Linked DNA regions of Homo sapiens: all the other regions are linked to region 4. The links are contacts of gene promoters, found by promoter capture Hi-C in blood cells and fetal thymus (Javierre and others, 2016). All regions are on one chromosome and are shown on one strand. The core of a region is centred on a gene start or on the middle of the fragment in contact, and the rest is flanking DNA. Distances in the headings are between cores, read along the strand shown.

Region 1 (3,173 bases), core at 555-3,054, 990 kb before region 4:
AATCTAACTGTGCTACAAAATTTTCTAGGGACTGTCAAATGCCATTTCCGCAAATATCATCAATACAAACTGTTGATGAGATAGGGAAAACACCATTTCAGCAGAGATTTGGCAGTATCTCAGAAAGCAAGGTTAGAATTTATTGAGAATTTAAGTTTCATTTAAGCCACTTCCCTCCGTGGAGAGAGTGGGGAGGTCTTGATTTGAAAAGGGCAAAAATCACAACATGGAAGTTTAAGATTGGTGGGAAAAGCAAGGCAAGGCAAGAGATTCAAAGGTAAAAACTGTTGATACTTTTCATTGAAGAGTTGATGGATATTTTGGGAAATTCCTATAATGAATAATCGAGCCATTTTTCCATGTAACGGTCACTGGAATGGTAAAGTTATGCTAGTGAAGACAGTGTTATAGTAATGTCACGTTGATGTAGAAGCTCTGTAGGGCGTAGATAGTTTTAGTTCTCAGAACTCGTCTTCTAAAGTTCCATACATTGAAACCCAAAACCTCTATTTTTAACAGGCTTAATTGGGAGCCAATGCTATAAACAACGAGCCACTGCAGGTTTTTGTCTCAGAGTTTGCCATGATCCCAGCTGTCCTTCAGGAGATGGGAATACTTGTTGGAAGGTTGCAGAAATTACCTAGAGAACATATAACGATGGTATGAATTATGAGTCTCGAGGACATGGTTAATTTAGTGATGCTAGTCATGGCTTTTCTCTGTCTCTGTCTCTGTCTCTCCCTGCTAGTTCTCTGCATCTCTTTCATGAGTCTGGGTCTTCTCCACGCTAAATACTGAGAGTATATATATCCATTGTCAAGTGAGGCAGACCCATGAGAAATCCTTAAGAAAAAGTATCTCAAGAAAGACAGGAAGACTGCAGGAAGCAAGGGATTGCCAGGTGCCTAGTAGTTTCTTTAAACCTACAAGTTTATTGTTCAGGTGATCTTCTCCTGTGTATGTTGGGGTAGAGATGAGGTGCACAAGGAGAGAATAGAAGTTATTTGGAGATTTAACTCAGAATTGCCCTCAGATTGAATCGAGGATGAGAAAGGTCTCAAGACCCTATATGGGATTGAGAACTAAAATTTAAACCTTAAGCACCCACCCCAACCAATTGAACAGACTCTCTCTTGGCCAAGGAGACCTCAGAGAAACCTTAAAAATGGAGTTCCTGGCCATAAGGAGACAAGAGATCACACAAGCCTCGTTATATCCTCTCCCTTTTGTATACAGACACACCAACTGACCAGCATGAATGTTAAAATAGAGATCATATGACTGACAGAACAGACTCTTTGTGGCAGTAAGATATCCAATTATAAACAGGACCTACGCCCATGTCAGGCAAAGGTTAAGTCACGCACCCCTACACTTAAAGAATAAACTTTGTTTTAACTGCCACAAGGTTTTTCTTTCTTAAGCAGCTCAACAAGCACTGGCCTCAAGGAAAGCAATATTAAAATAACTGCAGCTCATTCACCACCATGTGCTGACTAACCGACCTCCTGTTCCACAAGCCATAACTACAGCTTTGATTAGACAAGAAAGAGATTTCAGTAACTTTCCTGGTAAAAGACCACCGACTATGGACTGGTTCTGGTCGGTTTTATAGAGGCTTTGCACTTGAGAACATTTATGTCCCTGTTTTATCTTCTGAAATATAGACAGCCTCATTGTAATAAATTTAAATGTTAAGTACCCTCTCCAATATGAACATAGATCATTTGTAGCATGCATGTTTATTCAGTATGCATGCATCAGAAACCACTTGGTGAATATTCATAGCTTCTCCTGTAACCTGTTGAATATGTATATTTAGCCAACCTATGTAGCATAAAGCTCCTGCCTCAACCCCTCCTTCTTCAAAGTACTGCCTTTCGGTCTCTGTTGAAGGTACACTTCTCAGCCTGTCAGGATGACCATTGGCAGGCTATAACCCTTTATGAGAAATAAAGTCCTGTGTCCAAATCTGCATAGATCTCATGATTTTTCTGTTGGCAAAATTCAGGATCCCTGGGCTACCCCTGACATTAAATTATAAGCCCACTAGACTAAAAGTCCCTCAGACCCCTCAGCCTATCTGTCCCTTAATTAGTATAATCATGGTTAAGTTACTTTTTGTGCCTCTCCTCCTCACATTCACAGATGTTTACAGGAAAAAAAAAAAAAAAGTCAAGGAGATTAAGTCACTTGCCCAGGGTCTGAGAGCCACTAAGCGCAGAGCCATATCTCGAGTCCAGTTCTGTTGAACTCCAATAAACATCTCCTTTCTATTTCCTTCATTTTCTATTATTGCCTCTTCTCCTTTCACAGGGCTCTGATTGTAAAAATATATAGGCAGATAACACTGCAGTTGATAACATTACACTTCTATTGAAAGAAGTTTTTCTTCCTTTGCGATATTATTTCAGATCACTTTGCATCCTCATTTATTCATTCATGGATTCCTTCCCAGCCATCCGTGGAGAGATATGTAGGGTGTGAAATGAGACTCCTACATGCAGGGCCAATATTTAGCCAGTAACCTCAGGAAGGTCATTTGCAGCCAATGTTAGTTCTGATTGGCTGGGGCTGCAACTTGCAGAGTAGTAAATATTTTGACTATTGCCCTTGACTATCTGCCAGAATAATTGTCTGCATTTGTATCCCCTATGGTGCTCAATTAGAATGCACACAGCCCAAGAGAGTGAGGCAGGGTAGGAGGCGGTCTGAGTCTGGAAATACAGGCAAGAGACACAGGGTCAGGGCCATCTCTGCTCCAATCTGTCTTTGTGTGACCTTGTGCACATCACTTCTTTTCTCTGGGAATCAGCTTCTCCATAGGCAAAAGTATATATGGCCTGGCACTATTATATTTTTGTAAAAGAAAGTAGTATGTGCCTATGTGCCTGGGTCCATGTGTGCACACATAGAAACATGTCTGGAAGGTGACACACCTCCTATTTACAGTGGTTATCTCTGGGAAGCACAGCTGGATGAAGAAGGTATTTTTTACCTTATATAACCTCTTTACACTTTTAATTTTCCATAACAAGCATGTGTTGTAATTTTTTTAAGTTAACAGCTAAAAAGTCCTGTTTGTTCCTGTTTTACAGGAAGTCACACTTCTTTTCTAAGGTCACATGAGGACTTGGCATCTGACTCTGAAGACTGTCTTGCCTGCATCGTCC
Region 2 (2,786 bases), core at 9-2,508, 920 kb before region 4:
GAGACAGGGTATCACTCCTTTGGCCCAGGCTGCTGGAGTGTGGTGGCGTGATCTCGACTCATCGCAGGCTCACCTAGGCTCAGGTGATCCTCCCACCTCAGCCTCCCAAGTAGCTGGGACCACAGGTGTGCATCACCATGCTGGGCTGACTTTTTTGTATTTTTCATACAGACTGGATTTTGCTATGTTGCCCTGGTCTGGAACTCCTAGGCTCAAGGGATCCTCCCGCCTCAGCCTTCCAAAGTGCTAAGATTATGGGCATAAGCCACTATACCCAGCCCAGTTTTATTTTTTTCTAATTAAGGATATTTGTGGGGAATCTACCCTAAATGAATGATGAAAATTAATACCTGTGGTATAAAAAATCAAATTATAGCATGAGACTATGAAATTGAATGCAACCATAGAAAATAAGAAACAAACCACAATTTATGGAGGTGTTAAACATTTCTTGGTAGGATTCACCACATTCTTGAAGTGAAATAAGGAATAAGGGAAAGTATTTGAAAATAGCCATAATTGAAGAAAAGGAGATGAATGTGGGCACAGTGAAGATATTTAAGGAGAAAATGACTGTAGGGATTTAAATATTCTCTGTCATGATTCTCTTGCTTCTTATGGTGTAGATGCCTTATTGGAGGAACTGGAACGCTCCACCCTTCAGGACAGTGATGAATATTCCAACCCAGCTCCTCTTCCCCTGGATCAGCATTCCAGAAAGGAGACTAACCTTGATGAGACTTCGGAGATCCTTTCTATTCAGGATAACACAAGTCCCTTGCCGGTAAATTTTCATTTATTATAGTCCTTAAACATGGATGTTTGAGTGCATTTCTGAAAATTAACAGAATCCCACATAAAATAATATGAAAGGAGAATAATATATCCAAGAAAGAGAAAAAATAATGCCTCAATGTTAATCTAAAGATGTTTTTGGAAAGAGGAAGAGAATTGAGAAAATCATCACAGAGGAATGAGTTTTTGAGAACTAAATTTTTTTTATTTTTTTTATTTTTTTTATTTTTTTTTTATTTTTTGAGACAGAGTCACACTCTGTCTCCAAGGCTGGAGTGCAGTGGCACAATCTCGGCTCACTGCAACCTTCACCTCCCAGGTTCAAGCGATTCTCCTGCTTCAGCCTCCCAAATAGCTAGGATTACAGGCACGCACCACCATGCCCAGCTAATTTTTGTATTTTTAGTAGAGACGGGTTTTGTCATGTTGGCCAGGCTGGTCTCAAACTCCTGACCTGAGGTGATTCACCCGCCTTGGCCTCCCAAATTGCTGGGATTACAGGCATGAGCCATCACGCCCAGCCGAGAACTACATTTTTTCTAATGAGCACATGGTCACAGGCAGAGTATTGCATTCACTGGGGATATTCTGATGTTACTGTGGGGGCATCAGAGATGCCTGTTGCAGTTTGACTGGAATGGTACTCAGGCCAGAGATCACCTGAGGAAGGCCAGGTGGCAGCATAGACAAGTCTTCTCAGGGTGACTTTTTAGGGTCACTACTTCCCAGGTCTTATTTTCTGCTGAATAGATTAGGAGATTCAATTATTAGTTTATATAGAGATGATGAAGCTCTAGGGAACCAACTCAAACTAACCAAATTGACAAGTGATTATATATATATTTTAAAAACCTAGGGCAGGTGCAGTGGCTCAGGCCTGTAATTTCAGCACTTTGGAAGGCTGAGGCGGGGGGATCACTTGAAGCCAGGAGTTTGAGACCAGCCTGGGCCATATGGTGAGACCCCCATCTCTACGAAAAATTAAAAAATGAGCAGGGTGTGGTGGTGCGTGCCTATGGTCCCCGCCACTCAGGTGGCTGAAGCAGGAGGATTGCTTAAGCCCAGGTGGTCGAGGCTGCAGTGAGCTATGATTGCGCCACTCCATCCCAGCCTGGGCGACAGAATGAGAGCTTGTCTCAAAAAACAAACAAACAAAAAAAAAACAAAACTCAGAAATCAAATTTACAGTTAAAGCTATCAAGTAAAACAGCTATATTTACTCATATATGCATTCTCTTCCTATGGATAAGTCTATATGGACGTACATTATAATTAAAAGGTTGCTTGATGAGAATGGAATTAGTGTAAGATGAATTAAGTAGATGCTCTTCATAGCTGGTAATTTTGTACTATGATATTTTGATTCATCATTGTTCCCTGTATGAAATAGCCAGAAGCACAGACCTGAAATTTGAGCTCAGGGGTAGTTTACGCCCTAACTGTTCTTTTCTCCAGACACATACACAATTTTAACGATACGAATTTATCTCTCTACTAGGGAACTATTGTCTTTGTTCTCAGTGTTAGATTATAGCTGTAGGCTCCTAAGTGGTCTCCTGCCCTTTGCCCCACTGCAGTCTGTTCTCAAGCAGCCAGGGTCACCTTTAAAAACTAAAGTCAGACCCTGTCATTCTTCTACTCAAAACCCCAAAATGACTCCCATCTCATTTGGAGTAAAAGCCATAGTTTCATGTTGATCTTTCTGGGGTGACCATATATCCTGGTTTACCTGAAAGAGTCCTGGGTTTATGCTTGTTTTTCTCACATCCTATTAACTTTACTTTTTACCCCAGATCTTCAATTTTATTTAAAGTTTTCTTATCAGTATTTGCATTAAGTAAGCCACTATGGCTTAACAGACCTCCTTCCAGCTTCTTCCATGGTCTCATCTAGCAGCGTATGAAACACATATTCAGTGAACAGTGCTCTTTTTTTTTTTTTTGAGATGGAGTCTCTTTCTGTCGTGCAGGCTGGAGTGCAGTGGTGCAATC
Region 3 (3,167 bases), core at 66-2,565, 950 kb before region 4:
TACCTTCTACACGTTGTTTGTAAATCTACTCAGATAAATATCCAAGTTCATTGCTTACCCAATGATAGAACACAATTCAGTCAAGTTCTCTGCAACTTTATAACAAGGATCACCTTTTCTCCACTGTCCAATAACATGTTCATCATTTCCTTCTAAGGCCTCATCAGACTGCCTTTAACACTCATATTTCTGTTGACCATCTCTTCAAGGCAATCTACGCTGTTTTTTCTTTTCTTTTTTTTTGAGACAGAGTTTCACTCTTGTTGCCCAGGCTGGAGTGCAACGGCGCAATCTTGGCTCACCGCAATCATCGCCTCCTAGGTTCAAGCAATTCTCCTGCCTCAGCCTCCCGAGTATAGCTGGGATTAGAGGCATGCACCATACCTCAAAATACTCAAAGCCAATATCCATTACCCAATCCCAAAGCTATGCCAACATTTTTAGGTACTTTTTCATAGCCCACTTCCAATACCAAAATGTATTAGTTTCCTAGGGCTGCCATAACAAATTACCACAAAAGCCTATTTACTACAAAGCCCCTATTTCTCAATGTTCCATTCACAGGTACCTGAGTTAAGACTTCAACATCTTTTGAGGAAAGCAATTCAACTCGTAAAGGTGGCCCTACTAATATCAGGCAAAATGCACTTCAACAACTGTTACAAAACACAAAGAACATTATACGTTAATGAGAGGGTCAATCAATCTAGAAAATATAATAAATATAAACCTATACATAGCTAACACAGGCCCCCTCTCCCTCTCCCCCCATCTCTCTCTCGAGATATATCAACATATAACATACATAGCAAAGATTTACAGAACTGAAGAGAAACAGGTAATACCACAATCACAAAAATGGAGACATCTGTATCCCACTTTCAATAACAGAACCAAACACCAGTCAGAAGTTTGATAAGGAAATACAGAACTCAAGCAAAATTAAAAAATTAGACATATTAGACAAAATTAGACATAATGTTAAAAAACAGACATATTGGGCCAGGCGCAGTGGCTCACACCTGTAATCCCAACACTTTGGGAGGCTGAGGCAGGCAGATCACCTGAGGTCAGGAGTTTGAGATCAGCCTGGCCAACATGGCGAAACCCTGTCTCTACTAAGAATACAAAAATTAGCCGGGCATGGTGGCGTGTGTCTGTAGTCCCAGCTACTCGAGGACGCTGAGGCAGGAGAACTGCTTGAACCCAGGAGGTGGAGGTTGCATTGAGCCAAGATCACACCACTGCACTCCAGCCTGGGCGATAGAACGAGACTCCATCTTGGGGGAAAAAAAAAATTCACAGACATATTGAAAAGTCTCAATAAATTTCAAATGGCTGCAGTCATATAAAGTACGTTCTCTCTGACCACAATTGAATGAAACTAGAAATCAATATCAGAAGGAAAACTAGAAAACTCACAAATACATGAAAATTAACACACTGTTAAACCAATGGATCAAAGAATAAATCACAAGGAAAATTACAAAATACTTAGAGATGACTGAAAATGAAAACAAAATATCCCAAAACCTAGGGGATGCAGTGAAAGCAGTTCTCAGAGTAAAATTTCTAGATATAAATGCCTACATTAAAATAGAAAAAAAAAAAAATCACATGCCTGAATCAATAACCTAACATCATACCCATAAGAGCTAGGAAAAAAGGAGCAGAGTAAACCCAAAGCTAGCAGAATAAAGTAAATAAGTTGGTTCTTTGACAAGATAACAAAATCAACAAACTTTTGGTTAATAAGAGAAGACCCAAATTACTAAAACCAGAAATGAAAATGGGACACTACCACTGAAATAAACATAAGAAAACACAATGAACAACTGTTTGCCAACAAATAACATAGATGAAATCAACAACTTCTTAGGCACACACAAATTACCAAAAACAATTCAACAAGAAATGGAAAAGATGAACATATCTTTAACAAGTAGACAACTGAGTCAGTAAACAAAAAGCTCCCAATAAAAAGGCCAGAAGCCTCTAGATGGTTTCATTGGTTGATTCTACCACACATTTAAAGAATTAACTCCAGTCTTCCTCAAACTCTCTTAAAAAATAGAAGATGGAACACTTCCCAACACATCCTATAAACACAGCATTATTCTGACACCAAAGCCAGACAAAGACACCACAAAAAACCATAAGCCAATATCCCTTGCAAACCAAATATAGCATCATATTAAGAAGATTAAACACTATAATCAATTGAGACAGGTCCCAGGATTATGAGGGTGGTTCGATATACAAAAACATATGTAATATCCCACATTAATAAAGAGAGGAAAAAACACACCATTATCTCAATTGATGTAGAAAAAAGAAAAAGAACCTGACAAAATTAAACTTTCATGATAAGAACACACAAAAAACTGGGAATAGAATTGAACTTCCTCAACTTGACAAAGAACACCTTTAAAAACCCCAGAGCTCACATCATACGCAGTGGTAAAAGACAAAGCTCTCCTGCTAAGGTCAGGAACAAGACAAGGATGCCCTCATTCTTCACTTCCATTCAACACTGTACTGGAAGTTCTAGCCAAGTAATTACTCAAGTAAAAAAAGAGGCACCCAAAGTGAAAAGGAAGAAGTAAAACTGTATCTCTATTTGCAGGTGAAAAGACCTTACATATAGAAAATTCTAAAGAATTTTCACAAAAGAAAACTGTTAAAGGTCATATACAAATTCGAAGGGCCAGAATATAATACCAACACGTAACATTCATTGTTTTAAGCATATTAGCAATGAACAAAAAGGAAATTAAGAAAATAATTATTACCTTTATTCAAAGTGCCAGAATATATGACCAACATATAACATTCATTGTTTTAAGTATATTAGCAATGAACAAAAAGGAAATTAAGAAAATGATTACCTTTACAATAGAATAAAAAGGAATAAAATATTGAAAAATTGTTAAGATGACAATACTCTGAAAATAAACCCACAGATTAACTGTAATTCTTATCAAAACCCCAGCTTCCTTTTTGGTAGAAATTGACAACCCAATCCTAAAGTTCACAGGAAAATGCAAGGGATCTACACTAGTCACAGCCATCTTGAAAACAAACAGAATTAAAGACGCACTTTTTTCTTCTCAATTTCAACACTTACTATAAAGCTTCAGTAATCAATACAATGTATTACCGGCATA
Region 4 (2,818 bases), core at 179-2,678:
GTACAACCGGAAACGCACCAATCCCCAACCCAAATGCTATTACATAGAGTTAACAACACTTAAGTGCTGATATCAAGTCAGTAAGTCTTATGTCACATGATAAAGGCAAAAGAAAGGAAATAAAATGAAGATATTTTCTTAATACAAGTGTATATATGCACAAACATGTTCCTAACAAAAGGAGGAGGAAATACTCATGACAATTACAGTCCTCATTTTCTGCAGCTGGTCACATGGTCATAGTTCGTATTGATGACTACCTTCTTTGACTACCCATTCTGAATTCCGTTTGCCTTCAGCAAGCACCTCAGCAGATTATGTTTTTTTTACCTGGTGGAGTGACCCAAACCTTCATTCCTGAAGGGTCTGGGCCATTTGTCATCCTGCCTGGATTGGGCTGTTGCAGTTTCCCATTGACCTTAATCACAGGGCATGGTAATATTAAGAGACGCCCTACGTGATCTCCTGTATTCCACGCATACTTCCTTACCGCCATTGTGGAGTAGTAGACTGATTTCATCTTGATAGTCTGGGTCAAACACTGTAACTCCCTTCTTAGCAAGTTGGCTTAAAAGTAAGAAGAGCCCAAAGTGGCCAGGTGGCAATCTTAACTTCCAGTTTAATGGAATCATTGTTGTGTCTCTTGGTGGCAGCATTCCTCCCTCTGGAACTAAGACCTCTAGGCCAGCAGAACATAATGCCGCGGAAACAACTGCTATTTTGGAAACATCTAAATGCACGGGTCTGCACTGGACATTGCAGTCCTGGGATGTAGAGAGTAATTTCCCAGAAGGCCTGTCTCAGGAAGTTTACAGCCCAATAGAGAACTTCATATAACGTAGGTGTCTCCATTCATGAAGCACGCATAATATGGAGGTAGCTGTTAAGGGGTTCCTGCATGCAAAATGTCACATTGGGTCTATTACTCCTTCAGGAGTATTAAACCAAGGCTTTGAGGCTTGGTACAAGTTTGGGGGCACAGTTTGCCATCCATGACAATTAGTACATCTGTCTTTTCCCTGCTTCAGGGCTGGTGTCCAAGCTGAAATGGGAAAGTGTATCATCTTAAATGTGTGTGTGCTCCCTCACTCTGCATCCATCTCTTCCTTCACCAGCCTTGCCACCTCCTTTCCTCCAGCCCTGCCACCCTCACTGCATCCTTGCCCAGCCCTGTCCTTCCCCCAGGTTCTTCGTATCTCCTTGGCCCCACTGCCTTCCTCCTTAACAACCTGCCTCTCCCCTTGCCCACCATCGCCGCCTTGTCCCTCGGCCCCCACTCCTCTAGCCCCGTCCCTTGATGCCTACCCCCTCCCTTCCTTCCGACCCGCCTCCTGTGTCTCCCAGCCCTGCTCTGACGTGGGAGGTGAGGGGGGGTGGGGGGGATGGATGACTCACAGTGTTATGATGCAGTTCCACAACACACAGCCACATTCACCCACAGACCGAGGTACAGAACGAGAGACAACCTCTGCCCCCCCAGCAGCTGGCCAGCTTTGCAGCCCCAGTCTTGAGCCCCCAACTACCCTCCCCCCACCCACCCCCATCCCCTTCCCAATTGAAGGAGCGGAAAGAGAAGAGAGAAGAGTGAGCAGAGAGATTGAGAGATTGAGAGAGAGAGAGAGAGATAGACGGAGATCTCTGGAGCAGACCTCAAGGTGAGGGGGCAGCCCTTCTCCAAATGAATTTTTTTCTCTTTGCAAATTTCCTCCTCCTGCTGCGTGTTGCTTTCTCCCCTTTGCAAAAGCATTATTCATCCACCCTTTGTCCTCCCTTCCCCCTCCCCGCTGCCTCCGCTCCTCTCTCTCGGTTCCTCCATCCCTCTCCAAGCTCTGACGATTCCCGCACTTATTTCCCGGCAACTTTGGCTGCAGCATCAGGCATCACTGTTTATTGTTTTGCTGCTGGTGCAGACCCCCAAAGCCTGCCCTGGGAGCTGGCGGTGCTGCTAATTATTTGGACCATACCATACTGAGAATACCAGCCTGGGGGGTGCCAAAACCTCAGAGCAGATGAGAAAATCCATTGTGAGCAGGTGTCCCCCCCCTTTTCTTTTCCCCCCTGAGAAGCACGAGATTCGCACCTGGTTCCTCCAGCCTCCGCCTCGGCGCCTCTGCTGTCAGCTGTCAGTTGCCCCCGCCAGCCCTCCCTCTCCCCTTTCTCCTACGGTCCAGCCCCGTCTCACTTCAGGGGAACATCTCTCCCCAGCACTCGGCTTGCCTTTGTTTTTTCTCCAGTCATTTGCCCAACTTGCTTCTCCCTGTGATCCGAGATGGGTGAAAAAATGACCCCTACTCCCCTTTGTGATTCTCTGGCCTTCTGTGCAGCCTTTCCTTGGCTTGACTGGGAATTAGGGGAGAGGGAGGGAGGCGTGACGGCCGGAGGCTGGAGAAGGAGCTCAGGATTGGGGACCCAAGCTGCCCCATTCTCCATGCCCCTTGAAGAAGGTGTTTCAAGGTGGTGCATGTCAGAGGGGAACTCGCTGGCAAAGTTGAAGGCAAACCTGTGAAGCAGAGACTGAAAGGTGGTCTCTTGGCAAGGAGGGCCCGTTTCCTGCAGCCGGAGCCCAATGTCACCCTGAACTCAGCCCAAGGTGTCTTCCTGGGACCCAGCCCGGAGGAGAGGACCTGAAACTGAAGATAGTCTCTATGGAGGTTTTGCGGAGAGACTGCCTGGCGGCCTTCAGAGAGAGTGGAACAGCTGGGTGCCTGTGGCCACTGCGGAGGACAGGACGAGGAGAGCCTGTATGCCCTGGCTAACCAGAGCCAACACTGCCTCTTCTCTGCTTAGTGCTCTAGCATTGCCAGAGTGCCCAGCTGGC
Region 5 (3,083 bases), core at 532-3,031, 900 kb before region 4:
GTAAATAAACATCACAAACAAGTTTTCCTTAATGACTGACATCCTTTGATGGGCCAGTGTCTACAATAAAGCTGGGTAGATTGGCTCATTATGCTGTATATCTGAAAATACTAGAAAAAATGTACATTAGATTTAATTGTGTTGCGTTTCTAGTTGATTTAGCTTGTGTATTGGTTGATTTAAATTTTTAATTTACAACACCATCTTTTTTTTTTTTTTTTTTTTTGAGACAGATTCTTACTCGGTTACCCAGCCTGGAGTGCAGTGGCATGATCTCGGCTCACTGCAACCTCCACCTCCTGGGTTCAAGCGATTCTAGTGCCTCAGCCTCCTGAGTAGCTGTGATTACAGGCGTGTGCCACCATGCCCAGCTAATTTTTGTATTTTTAGTAGAGACGAGGTTTTGCTATGTTGCCCAGACTGGTCTCAAACTTCTAAGCTCAGGCCACCTGTCTGCCTCGGCCTCTCAAAGTACTAGGATTACAGGCATGAACCACTGTGCCCGGCCCCATTTATCTTTTGAATAAGCTGCACTTTCACATTGTACACAAATCAAAAGTGCAAAAAGCTTGCACTGAACTGTTTCCTTCTCAGCTCTGCACCCTAGCCATCCAGTTCTGCCCCACCGGAGATAGGCAGAATTTCCTGTCTCTTCTATATCTGTTCAGAAGTATTCTGGAAGATAACAGTGAAGAGATAGAGATGTAGGTGTAGATGTAGTTATATTGTATTTTTACTTATTTTTCATAATTAATGTCAGTCACCCTTTCAGACCTTTCAGACACTAACCTTCTGAACACTAACCTCTTGAATATTAACTAACATATATTAGAGAAGGAAGGATGTCTGTCAGATGATCAAAATGTCTCGAAGCAAAATGAGCATTTTGATTGGTGACAGTGTGATGTTATAACAGGCAGTAAAAGTAGGATAAGTAGAGGTCTTAAGGCAGACAGTAACAGATCACATTCAGGAGATGAAGAGCCCAGCTGTCCTTTTACAACATAGTATTAATAAAAGATGAAATTGGGAAAGATAAAAAGGGAGGACAGTGGATGGGAGGCTTTGAATGTCTGTCTGATGAGTGAAGACTTGATGTGGTGGCAATGGAGAGCCATTGTAGTTTTCTGATGAGTGAAGTATTCAGTAGATAGATGGTAGCAGTCGCCCAGCTGGAAAGGAGTAGAGAGAGCCAGAATCAGGTTATGAGGTTATGAAGGGTCAGTTAGCCTTTTTTTTTTTTCTTTTAATTTGAGGATCCTTCTTTGAATGGTTTATAATAATTTTGGGCTTTTGCTTAAATAATTCCAATCCATCAACAAGTCTTATCTGACCACTTCTCACCACCTTCTCCTGTAATACTGATCTAAGTCATTATCTGAAAATCTCCCTGTATTCACTCTTGCTTGTCAACACTTAGTTCTCCACTCAGCTACCACAGGGATCCTCCAGATTCCTTCACTCCTGTGCTTGAAATCCTGCAATGGCTTCCATCACCTTGGAATAAAACCCAAGCGTTTACCATGAGGTTCCTATGTGATCTTTGCCTCTCTCTCCATCACCTTCTCCTGCCGTGTTCAATCTCACTCCCTCTGCTCTAGCCCCACTGACCTCTTTGACTTTTCTTCTAATGTGCCAAGTTGTTTTATTCCTCGGGGCCTTCCCTTCCCCTAGAATGCTTTTCCCATAAATGTCAATATTTCTAAGTCCCAAGTATCTACTCAAATATTACTTCCTTAGAGGGGCCTTCTTTGATTATTACCTCCATCTAAATCAATTCTTCTTACCATCTTGCTGTGTCCCTTCTATCTCTTTCTATAACTTATCTCTGTCTGACATTACAACATATATTTATTTATTTAATTATTTATTGTCTATCGCCCACAGAATGCAATTCCATGAGGCCAGACACTTGGTCTGTCTTATCTTTGCTTTAATCCAAGTGCTTAGAGCAGTGATTGGCACAAACCAGGTATTCAACAATTATTGCCAAATAAATGAGTAAAAGGGAGATGTGACTAATTTTTGAACTGGGGTCATCCTAAGATCTTCAAAGGGTATCATCTTCATGTACTAAATTTCCTACATTAAGAAAAGATTTACAAATATAAAATTAGTCAGATTTCATTTGGCCTGAGGAGTTTAGGATGAAAGGGAGATGAAAAGATTTTTATTGGTGTTGAAATTTTAGATTTTTCCAATGTCTTGCAGGAAGGTTGGGGAAAGGCCAAGAGATCAGTCAGTAGAGGTGAATTTATAGAGTCATTAGAAGATGCCAATGAGAATAAAAATGAGGCTGATTCTGTTCTTGGTTCTTCCCTTGGGCCAGGTTGCAGTGAGAGCAGATGCTGGCAAGAAGCACTTACCAGACAAGCAGGATCACAAGGCCTCCCTGGACTCAATGCTTGGGGGTCTGGAGCAGGAATTGCAGGACCTTGGCATTGCCACAGTGCCCAAGGGCCATTGTGCATCCTGCCAGAAACCGATTGCTGGGAAGGTGAGATGGGCTGAAATTTTGGTCCTACAGCCTTCTTTGTCTCTCTCTGTCTCATCAAGGTTTGCTCTTTCCCCTTATATTTTAAGATATTTTAGTTAGCATTAATAATTACTAATCACTTACAGTGCTCTGGCCACTGAGCTAAGTGCTTTACAAGTATTTCCTCATTTAATGGTCACATCAGCCCTTCAAGAAGAATGATTGCTCCCTTTGTAAAGATGAGGAAACTGAGGACTCAGAGACATTAATGGACATATCCAAGGCATAATAAGAGGTAGAGGTAAGATCTGAAACCAGGAGACTGTCTCCTGAGTTTGAGTTCTTGACCATTTTTCTGTACTGCCTTTACTGAGATGACCTTTCTCACTGCTCCCTTTGTTCACACATTCCCAGTCTAAATTGATTGATTACAATTTTCAGCTGAACTCAGCTCCAAGTCACAGCTGCAAACTCCTGTTCTGCATCGTCCTTCACCGAAGCTATGATAAAAAGCTTTGAGACCTGACTGCATGGGGCGTGGAATAAAGTGTTCAAACTAGAGGAATAAAAACTGTCATTTGGCCTTTTCCTCTTCCAGGGGTCCCTT
Region 6 (2,945 bases), core at 154-2,653, 980 kb before region 4:
ATGTATAATTGATGGGGTCATTTTAGATGCAGCAAATTCATAGTCAGTTATTCCCCATTAAGAAATTGTAGACATATTTCTCCATTGAACAGAAGTATTATCCAGATAGCTCTAAGAGCTTCATATTAATAAGCAGAAATTTTATTATTTGAGAATGCTGCTGTTAAGCAGAATTAAGAGAAAGCTTGAATGGAATAAGACTATACATTCAGTGCCAAAATTACAAATGATCACCTCTTCCCTTCTCTCATGACTTCTCTTTTGTACTCAACCAGTACAGAGTATTTTGTAGTTTTGTACTGAGACACAACTCCTACCTCCTCCGGGAAACTACTTTGGGCCCCTCTCCTTCCTTTAGCTTCCTAACAAACCTGGGACTTATAATTTCGACTATGTGTGTGTGTGTGTGTGTGTGTGTGTGTTTGTGTGTTTACAGAATCTCTGGTATCTCCAGTGAGAACAGAGTAGGCCTCACCCTCTCCTCATGACTAAGTCCAGAGAATGTGAGGTGAAGGAGTTCTGTGACTTTTTAACTTGAGTAGTATTCCACTCACTGTCCACAAAGGCTTGGGTTACACTGTCTGCATCACTGATCACAGTAATGTACGTGTGTGTGTATACACACTCACAACCATATTGCCACAAATGCATATTAGAAAGCAGGGCCTTACTTTCCCTGAACTGTTACAATGCCTAGCCCAGAGTACTCTGGTAATAGTGACTTCATGGAGTTTTGTACACACACCCATGTGAGAAAGGATACAAGCTAAGCTACTCATCCACACCTCATGAAACCTATGGGAGTTAGCCCTGACTCATGGTTCATTTACGAATACAGAAGCCCCAGTTAATTAAATTAACTTGGTCTCCCAATCCATGATCTTGAGTTTTAATTGATAAGTATAAAATAAATGACACACTTGAAAATTTCTGGATTCACATCACACCACCAGTACATGGCCTTTTCCATTAATGTCCGCATTGACCAACCTTTCATACTATGTTGGTTCTTACAAGAAATAAAAGCAGAGCCTGCCCCTTTGTTGTGCAGCACAGAGGCTTTATTCTATAGTTTCAGAGTCTCTGGTATCTCCAGTAGGAACAGAGTGGGCCTCACCCTCTCCTCATGACTAAGTCCAGAAAATCTGAGGTGAAAGTTTGACTTTTTAACTTTAGTATTCCACTCATTGTCCACAAATGCTTGGGTTACACTGCCTGCATCACTAATTAAAAGTGAGGTAACCTGGTATAAGCCGTGCCCAACCCAATATTTGAGAACTTTTAGTGAGTACTTAAAAACCAGGCTGTATTACTAAACATCCCCAGCTTCCAAAGTTCAGAAGTTTGGCGGGCCTAATCATTTTCCAAAATGGAATCTTAAGATCTCCAGCTGCCCTCCTCACCGCCAAGTATGAACAATAAATCCTGACTTTAACGCTAAAATTTGCAACTGACTTCTGAGGACATCTAACAGCAGCTGTTTTCCAGCGATGGGAATAGATTACATGGATGCATCTTCCAACACCCTGTGACAAAGAGGTGCAGTGATTCATGATCAAGCCTCTAAAGTGAAAGGCACATAGGCTTTTACAAGGAGAATGATCTGTGTTCAAACTCAGTGTGCTACTTGTTAGCTGTGTGAGCTTAACCAAATCTCTGTGAGCCTGTTTTCTCATCTACCTAATGGGAGTAACACCACCTTGCTCACAAGGTTGTAAACGCTGTACATAATATACATAAAGACCCTTGGCATACTGCCTTAATATAGAAGATAATAAAAGTTAGCCATTATTATTCTTATTCTCTAAGAGTTTAAATCAACTAAAGAGTCTGATTTTAAATTGAATCTTCTCAGACCGAGTCATCCAGGACTAGAATTAACATATGTATATTCTGTCTGTAAGGCAGTTAAATGCCTGTAGAGGTTACTTAGTGGGTTAGAAAGGTTAGAACCCTGAAGTGGAAGGACGTTGTCCCTGCTCCCACTCTCTTACACCTGCAGCACATGCAAGCACGCACACAAATCACACCCCCCAGGCTAAACTTGTATGCCCATTTGTGTATGTCTCCAACGCTACTTGATGAAAATACCTGTAGTCCTTCAACAGGCTGCAGGTGGTCAGAGAAAAAAGAAAGAAAATGCCTGTTGTCTTAACTGTTTTTAGAAATTTAAGATGGGAAAGCGAGGCCCCAGGGAACTACGCATATTCCATTAGAAGAGAAAGCAAGGAAGAGAGAAGGGACTAACTGCTACATTTTCTTGTTGTTAGCAATATAATGGCTCCCACGTGCTGGGATCCCAGTCTGATGAGAAGAAATGAAACGAAGGTCATGGATGGACCTTACTGTCCACTGTGAAAGCTCCTGCAGCACCTTTAGGCCCCACAGCTTCTTCTCAAAGAGACCACCATCTCCAACATTAATAGGCATCCCATCAGCCTCATTGCGGGGGATCTTGTATTCCAGGAGTATCATTAACTCCTCTATCTGGTATGCAAAGGCAGCGACTTGGAGAAGAAGGGTATGTATAGCTTGATGGAAGTCACCTTCGGTTGGGGTAAAATGCACCTGCTGGTCTTCTAAGAGCCTGGCCAACAAAACATGGAAGGTACGATAAGCTTGAAGGTTCTCTTGGAGTCGCTCTGCCTCGGTCAGCTCACTCCACTGATCAGTGCTTGCCACTGGCATCCCATCCGCAGAGTCCAGGTTGATGTTCTTGTTCAGGCCCTGATGCTTCACCTGGCCGAGGATACAGGAAAACACCACATCTTCTGTCATCACCCCAGTGTCCTTAAATCACCCCTAAATTTCATACAAAATCTCACTCATCTCTCTGGCCAAGGATCCAAGTTGTAAAGTAAATAATATGTCTACAGTAGGAACTCTTAATTTGGGCTCTATGACTGGACTTTAGAAAGACCCAATACTGCCTGAAATTGACTACC

The links. The method cuts DNA at HindIII sites, captures the fragments that hold promoters and counts their contacts. A CHiCAGO score of 5 or more calls a contact.
Region 1: a contact is called between a fragment that was not itself captured here and the fragment with the promoter of YPEL4 in region 4, in 5 of 17 cell types (total CD4 T cells, naive CD8 T cells, total CD8 T cells and 2 more). The highest score is 10.6, in total CD4 T cells.
Region 2: a fragment that was not itself captured here is called in contact with the fragment with the promoter of YPEL4 in region 4 in 11 of 17 cell types (naive CD8 T cells, non-activated CD4 T cells, neutrophils and 8 more); the score reaches 21.4 in naive CD8 T cells.
Region 3: a fragment that was not itself captured here is called in contact with the fragment with the promoter of YPEL4 in region 4 in 4 of 17 cell types (naive CD8 T cells, total CD4 T cells, non-activated CD4 T cells and 1 more); the score reaches 7.5 in naive CD8 T cells.
Region 5: a fragment that was not itself captured here is called in contact with the fragment with the promoter of YPEL4 in region 4 in 8 of 17 cell types (total CD8 T cells, naive CD8 T cells, total CD4 T cells and 5 more); the score reaches 11.4 in total CD8 T cells.
Region 6: a fragment that was not itself captured here is called in contact with the fragment with the promoter of YPEL4 in region 4 in 5 of 17 cell types (naive CD8 T cells, total CD4 T cells, naive CD4 T cells and 2 more); the score reaches 7.6 in naive CD8 T cells.

What each region holds. Positions count from the first base shown.
Region 1 is chr11:58,640,602-58,643,774 of GRCh38, reverse strand. No RefSeq gene overlaps it. Among named protein-coding and RNA genes, the nearest start is that of CNTF, 20 kb to the right of the region's middle. The HindIII fragment of the contact is 4,055 bases long and covers 1-3,173 here.
Region 2 is chr11:58,568,554-58,571,339 of GRCh38, reverse strand. LPXN (leupaxin) reads left to right here. Exons shown (of 9, transcript NM_004811.3): 2 at 627-784. Among named protein-coding and RNA genes, the nearest start is that of LPXN, 5.9 kb to the left of the region's middle. The HindIII fragment of the contact is 6,686 bases long and covers 1-2,786 here.
Region 3 is chr11:58,600,056-58,603,222 of GRCh38, reverse strand. The region is part of intron 2 of ZFP91 (ZFP91 zinc finger protein, atypical E3 ubiquitin ligase); the gene reads right to left. The region is part of intron 2 of ZFP91-CNTF (ZFP91-CNTF readthrough (NMD candidate)); the gene reads right to left. Among named protein-coding and RNA genes, the nearest start is that of CNTF, 21 kb to the left of the region's middle. The HindIII fragment of the contact is 3,643 bases long and covers 1-3,136 here.
Region 4 is chr11:57,648,522-57,651,339 of GRCh38, reverse strand. YPEL4 (yippee like 4) reads left to right here and starts at 1,428. Exons shown (of 5, transcript NM_145008.3): 1 at 1,428-1,655. MIR130AHG (MIR130A host gene) reads right to left here. Exons shown (of 2, transcript NR_186232.1): 2 at 1-1,042. The HindIII fragment of the contact is 14,007 bases long and covers 1-2,818 here.
Region 5 is chr11:58,550,479-58,553,561 of GRCh38, reverse strand. It overlaps LPXN (leupaxin), which reads left to right. Exons shown (of 9, transcript NM_004811.3): 5 at 2,330-2,497. Among named protein-coding and RNA genes, the nearest start is that of LPXN, 24 kb to the left of the region's middle. The HindIII fragment of the contact is 2,421 bases long and covers 571-2,991 here.
Region 6 is chr11:58,623,828-58,626,772 of GRCh38, reverse strand. CNTF (ciliary neurotrophic factor) reads right to left here. Exons shown (of 2, transcript NM_000614.4): 2 at 1,040-2,739. The coding sequence ends at 2,251. ZFP91-CNTF (ZFP91-CNTF readthrough (NMD candidate)) reads right to left here. Exons shown (of 13, transcript NR_024091.1): 13 at 1,040-2,739. Among named protein-coding and RNA genes, the nearest start is that of CNTF, 2.6 kb to the right of the region's middle. The HindIII fragment of the contact is 2,434 bases long and covers 187-2,620 here.